Linked DNA regions of Homo sapiens: region 1 is linked to region 2. Evidence: promoter capture Hi-C in 16 types of primary human blood cells and fetal thymus (Javierre and others, 2016). All regions are on one chromosome and are shown on one strand. The core of a region is centred on a gene start or on the middle of the fragment in contact, and the rest is flanking DNA. Distances in the headings are between cores, read along the strand shown.

Region 1 (3,218 bases), core at 534-3,033, 210 kb before region 2:
GCATGAAAATGTTATCTGACTACCTAGAATATTTCCACTTAACGATAACTCAGATTCTGAGGACAAGGCCAGATAAAAGGCCAAATCAGACAATCTTTGAAAGCATAGTGTTTCGTTTGGTTGGGGTGTATGGTAATCCCTCACCTCCCCATGGACCTGCCAGTAGGTCCGTGAATCTTGCTTTATGGTTTGCAGGAGGACTTCAGCTTTCCCTACTAACAGCCTAAAGCCAGAGAATCCAGACAGACCCTTGGGTCATGAGAACAGTCAGATGAGTAGCTCCTGAGATAAAAATAAAATCTTAAAAGAAGAAAATAGCTTTACCATTGGGAAGCAAGAGAAGTTTCACTGGAGCTTCTGGGGTGGGCTTCAGAATGGTGAGAGCTGCCCTCATTTTGGCAGCTTCAGAATTATACCTTGCCCTAGTCAATAGAAGTTGATGTCTCAAACACAAAATATAATGTCTTTGTTGCCCACTGAGTGCAGTTAGTTAGTTGAATTGTAGCTTCTGGGCAATCCCCTTCCTCTGAGTAGGTTAAGGGTAAGGCATATTTCAGGACTTGGCTCAGAAATAAGTCCTGACTTTTTTCCAGTGAAAATGCAACTGAAAGTCTCTTTATGTCCTCTTAGTTTGAAATCTGCAGCTTGAACTTCCCAGCATGGGAGAAACTTATCCCACCTTTCACCGTACCCCCTGCCCCCCCACACACAGTAGTATCCACAAAGGAATTATTTTTTTTCCCCAACTGGCCATCTCTCTCTCTGTCTCTCTCTCTCTCTCGCCACACACACACACACCAAAGAAAAAGAAAGATAGGTATTTCTAGCCTCGTTTTACTCTGTAGGAACAAATAAGAGTGTGGGACCCTGTGAGTGTGGACAATGCCACAGGCAGAGGGACTCCCTTTCTTTATTGGTCTGTTGACTCTGCTGAAGAAAGCTTTGAATTCCAGGCTTTGATTTGCTTCCTCTTCTTAGAAGAGTTATGGACTCTGTTCTGGAAACAGAGAGATAGGTTCAAAGTTTATCAGACAAAGGCATCTAAGAAAGGGTAGTGCTGATATGAATGACCTGGTCCAGCTGCGGGGAGGATCCACATTGTAGGCTCTGATGCAATACCTATGCTGGGGTAGTCCTCAAGCTAAGAGGCCGTTTCTACTTTAGAGACTTAATGACCATCTAGTTTGGTGTTTTCCTCAGGTCCATTATCTCTGAAAAGAGACATAGGAGGAAGAGGATTATTTATCCTCCCATCCATAAGCCTGTGTTTCCAGTTCAAGGATTTAGGTCAGCAAGACGCAGACCCAAAAACCATTCATTTAATAACCCAAGAAAGAAGGCAAGCAGGGTGGCCCAAATCTTCCAACTGGGGCAAGATTTAATATAGTGTTCCAGTGGAAAGAATCTTCTAATGGTAACTTGGACTCTACATGTCCTAATTCTGTTGTTAATGAGATTGATGACTCTGGGCTTAGTTTCTTCTGTTAAAAACTAGGAAATTGTAGATAATCTCTCAACTCCATTTCAGCTCCAGGATTTCTCAGTTCCTGGAGTACCCCTGCCCTAGACCCTCCACATGAAGAAGAGAGTCTTACCAAATTGGATTATCAGAGCAAGACTATTAGCAGAGAAGCCTGAAAACATCTTTCTGGCCCAAACAACAGTGAACTTTTTTGATCAGCATGTATTAGGGACTTTTGGGCACAATTGCAATCAAAGGCAATTGTTCCTGTCTCTTCTACATTTTTTTTGCTACTGTACCCTAGTCAGAATAGTTCACTGAGACTTCCCTGTAATTTCAAACTTCACTTGAGAGTGCTAACCCTGTTTTGGGCATCTTTGGCTTTAAAACTGATTATTATAAAACTCAAATTGAATTTCCCTGCTCTACTTTCTCCACCCCTGCCAAACATACCACTGAACAGCAGTGATTTTGTGAGGCCTTTCTATAAACAGAGAGCTATACTTGGGGGTACACCCAAAAACCCCAAAAAGTATCATCTCCTATGTATCATATCTAGTGATTTAAAGTGTTTAGTTTGGCCCTTTTCCTTAGTTCCTTATGTCCTGAAATGAGACATGGGAGGGATAGGATCGTTTCTTCTCCCACTCATAAACCTTAGCCTTCTCTCTCTTCTGCAGTCTACATGGGGAGGACAGAGAAGCGCAAAGAACAAGAGAAAAGATGCATCCATCTGAGATCTAAAAGGAGACAATGAGGTGATATTTTCCCCCTGCCCAGGTGTTGTGTTTTCAGCTCTTACCCCTTTTTATTTTAGAGACTGGCCATTCCTAGGATGACCTGGGAATTTATCCCCTCTGCACTGCTCCCCAAGCACTTGGATAATGAAGCTGAGCTGTCTTCAACTGTATTATATGTAGACAGAAGGTCACCATCTACAGCCTGGTGAAAAATGAGTCAGACCTTTCCACTGTAAAGACAAACACATGAGCTGAGCTAAGGTTGGTGGGTTTCCTTCAGAGAGCACTAGGTTGACCCTAAAGATAATTTCAGAGCTGCAAATTGCTTGATGTCTAGGTCTTTTTCCTGGAAAGGGGCTTGCAGACAGTGGCTAATTCCATACCTTTCCCTGGCCCCTTTGCGTCTTCTCCCTCCTCAATTATGCAAAGCTTTGATAGAGAGCAGAGCCAGCTATGTGATTTCAACATATTTTTGCTCAGATTTCACTCAGTTCAGGAAGGCATAGACAGTAGAGGATGATGCTGTGGGTTTGCTCTACTTGTAGCACCTGAATGGCTCATACCCAAGGCACATGGGAAGTTCTGTCTTGTTAATAACTACTGCTCTCCACCGCAGAACCCAGGTACTAAGGGAAAGTGGAGAAAATTTTTCTACTTCTGCCTGTTATAGTTTGGGAATAATAACAAAAACATGGTATGGATCCTTGCCATTCTCTCTACCTTCACCATCTTTCCCAACAATATTCTTCTCATGACCTTTTACCCCCTAGGCCACATTAAGCATGTGTTAAATGACTTTTTTTTTTTTTTTTTTTGAGACGGAGTTTTGTTCTTGTTGCCCAGTCTGGAGTGCAATGGCCCGATCTCGGCTCACTGCAACCTCCGCCTCCTGGGTTCAAGCGATTCTCCTGCCTCAGCCTCCTGAGTAGCTGGGATTACAGGCATGAACCACCACCCCTGGCTAATTTTGTATTCTTCGTAGAGATGGGGTTTCTCCATTTGGTCAGGCTGGTCTC
Region 2 (3,139 bases), core at 555-3,054:
AAATAAGGCTGGGTGCAGTGGCTCATGCCTGTAATCCTAGCACTTTGGGAAGCCGAGATGGACCAATCACCTGAGGTCAGGGTTTTGTTTTGTTTTTTTTGGCGGGGGGTGTGGGGAGACAGAGTCTCACTCTGTTGCCCAGGTTGGAGTTCAGTGGTGGAATCTCAGCTCACTGCAACCTCTGCCTCCTGGGTTCAAGCAATTCTCCTGCCTCAGCTTCCCAAGTAGCTGGGACTACAGGTGCATGCAGCCATGCCCCGGCTAATTTTTTATATTTTTAGTAGAGACGGGGTTTCACTGTGTTGCCCAGGCTGGTCTCGAACTTTTGAGCTCAGGCAATCCGCCCGCCTCGTCCTCCCAAAGTGCTAGGATTACAGGCGTGAGCCACCGCGCCCGGCTACAGTCAGAGGTTTGAGACCAGCCTGGCCAACATGGTGAAACCCCATCTCAACTAAAAATACAAAAAATTAGCCAGGCATGGTGGCAGGTACCTGTAATCCCAGCTATTCAAGAGGCTGAGGCAGGAGAATCGCTTGAACCCAGAAAGAGGTGGCACTGAGCCGAGATTGTGCCACTGCACTCCAGCGTGGGTGACAGAGTGAGACTCCGTTTCAAAAAAAAAAAAAAACAAGAATGCAAAATAAATTTAGAGTACTGAGAGTCGGAGAGGAAATGCTTGACAAAAGCTTGTTCCTTCTTTTTACTAGAAGGCAGGGCTAGCCACAGGTCGGTCGGCTTAACATTGCATCACTCACATTCCCTACCACTAGTCCACTACATTCTTATTTGGGGCAAAACTATCAGCCAACAACACTATCAGTCTCTTGCCCTATTGTCAGACTCTAAAACCCCTGTATAGAAAGGGATAACACTATCACGGGCCAGTCCCCAAGAACAGTGGCCTCAATAACAGCCCCACTTGCTATTAAATGAAATGAAGTTTCTGAACGGGGAAGCAGTCTGTCAATCCCTCAAGCAAAACGCCTTCACCCCTCCTGGCTTTCTGCTCTTCCTCTAGCCCCCTCCTCCCCACTACCCAATTTCCCAAAGTCCTGAGTTAGGGAAGGCCTTCCAGTGTGTGGTGTGTGAACCCTGCCAGAGAGCCAGGCTGCAAACCAAGCGCAGGGATGTGAAGAATGTGAGATTCCTTCATGGAGGGCTGGGAGGGGGTGAGGAGCGGGGAAGGAATGAGAGGACAAGGCTGCCAACGACAAGGCATGGGAGAGGAGCCAAGCTATGGCGCTTCGAGGGCGGGGGTTTAGGTTCCACCGCCCCTGCCCAGGCTGGCCCCCGGAATGCTCCCTTCCTCCCCTTCTGGCCCGTCAATCATTGCCCATTTAAACACCACGCTGTTCCCCCAGTTCTGCAGGTGCCGGTCCTCCAGCTAGCCCCGGCCCCCTCCCGCACTTCTCAAAGCTCCCCTATTCCAATGGACCTTCCCCAACAACCCGTTCTCCAGAGCCCCCTTCTCACCTCCCGACTCCTCGCCAGTGCTGCTCCCTTCTCACATTTTTATCTCTACCACCATCCCTCCTCCTGAACCCCAGTTATTTCAACCCCCCGCCCCAATACCCCTGGGACATCACCTCCTCCCCTCCCACACCCTCTTTTAGGTGGAAGATCGCGCAGGCGCAGTACGCACCGCCCTGGAAGCGGCCTGGAGTCTCCGCAACCTGACCCAGTCGGAGCTGAGGCCGCAGCGGCCACAGTACTGCCCTGGTGCCGGGTCCCAGCCTCTCCCGGGAAGGGAAGGGAAAGGGGAAGGAGGGGAAAGAAGACTCCTACCACTCGTCGCCGCCTCAGACGGATCCTTTGCCCCGCCCACCGCTGCTACGCAACCCGGCGGAAGCTCGTCACCAAACCCCGCCTCTTTGTTTAACTCAGCCCCTACACCAGCAGCCAGGAGCTGCCTACGAGGAGGGACGAAGGCTGGCCAGGCCTCCACTCTAGACAGGAAGTCTAGTCTAGAGTCTATATGGTCCCAGCCAGGACTATGTAGCCATTTAGGAGGGAGAACTCTATGTTCTTCCCGGCAAAAACGTGTGGGCCTGGCCGGCCACGCTTCGCTTTGGAGGGGTGCAGGTGACTTGTGTCTTAGAGCTGACGCAGATTGTTGCGAGATCATTGCGGAGAGGCAGGCCTGCAGCGTGACCTGCTGCGGGTCCGGCCCCTCTCCCTTTTCCAGAGCCCTGGTCAGCATCCCAGAGCTTCGTAACCCCTTGACTCCTGTCATGGGAATGGATATTGCAGTTAACAAGGCGGCCGCGGGGTGGGGAGTGAGGGAGTCTGACCGCAAAGCTTAGATCTGGGGTGCTCAACGGGTTGTCTGCCTCTCTCCCAGGCGCTCTCCTGCCGTATCCACGATGGCTCCCCGAACACTTGTGGAGTTCCCTGAAACACCTAAGAGGAAGGAAGGGAGAAAAAATTTCCCTCTTCCTGAGTTGGGGTTTGATTTCCTTAGCTTACAACACCGTGGTGTTGGGGATGTGGGCGGTAGAGAACGTGGGATCCAAGGGAAGTCAATGTGGAGCCTAAAGAGCTCCGTGAGCAGATAAGGGATTAATTAAGCAAACCAAGGCATTACAATCACATGACTTCCTAGACTAATCTGGTATTAAATAGTATGGTATTTATTGTGGACATTGGCTAAGCAAATGCTAATGCACATTAATACACACATACACACATATCTTTATGTAATTTGTTTATACACAACAATACAGAGCTAGCTACCTTTTGTGGACAATTTGACAGGTCCCAAAAGGAACTAAAGTTTCAGGCCTCCTTTCTGCTGTCTTCTAGCGGGACTCTGAGATAAGTAAGATAAGAGTAGTATGGCCGGGCGCGGTGGTTCATGCCTTTAATCCCAACACTTTGGGAGACCGAGGCTGGTGGATCACGAGGTCAGGAGTTTGAGCCCAGGCTGGCCAACGTGGTGAAACCCCGTCTCTACTAAAAATACAAAAAAAGTAGCCGGGCGTGGTGGCGGGCGCCTGTAATCCCAGCTACTCGGGAGGCTGAGACAGGAGAATCGCTTGAACCCGGGAGGCAGAGGTTGCATTGCAGTGAGCCGAGATCGCGCCACTGCACTCCAACCTGGGCGACAGAGCAAGACTCCTTTGCCGGGGTGGAGCGGTGG

Evidence for each region. Contacts are between HindIII fragments. The CHiCAGO score rates a contact against its expected background, and 5 or more counts as called.
Region 1: a fragment that was not itself captured here is called in contact with the fragment with the promoter of RNF41 in region 2 in 1 of 17 cell types (naive CD8 T cells); the score reaches 5.6 in naive CD8 T cells.

What each region holds. Positions count from the first base shown.
Region 1 is chr12:56,009,275-56,012,492 of GRCh38, forward strand. It overlaps LOC105369781 (a long non-coding RNA gene), which reads right to left. Exons shown (of 3, transcript NR_135023.1): 2 at 2,265-2,404; 3 at 818-997. It also overlaps a transcript of IKZF4 not described here. Among named protein-coding and RNA genes, the nearest start is that of IKZF4, 10 kb to the right of the region's middle. The HindIII fragment of the contact is 1,691 bases long and covers 939-2,629 here.
Region 2 is chr12:56,220,118-56,223,256 of GRCh38, forward strand. RNF41 (ring finger protein 41) reads right to left here and starts at 1,805. Exons shown (of 7, transcript NM_005785.4): 1 at 1,643-1,805. It also overlaps a transcript of NABP2 not described here. RefSeq lists enhancers at 1,727-1,776, 1,763-2,697, 1,997-2,216, 2,698-3,139, 3,048-3,139. The HindIII fragment of the contact is 1,612 bases long and covers 685-2,296 here.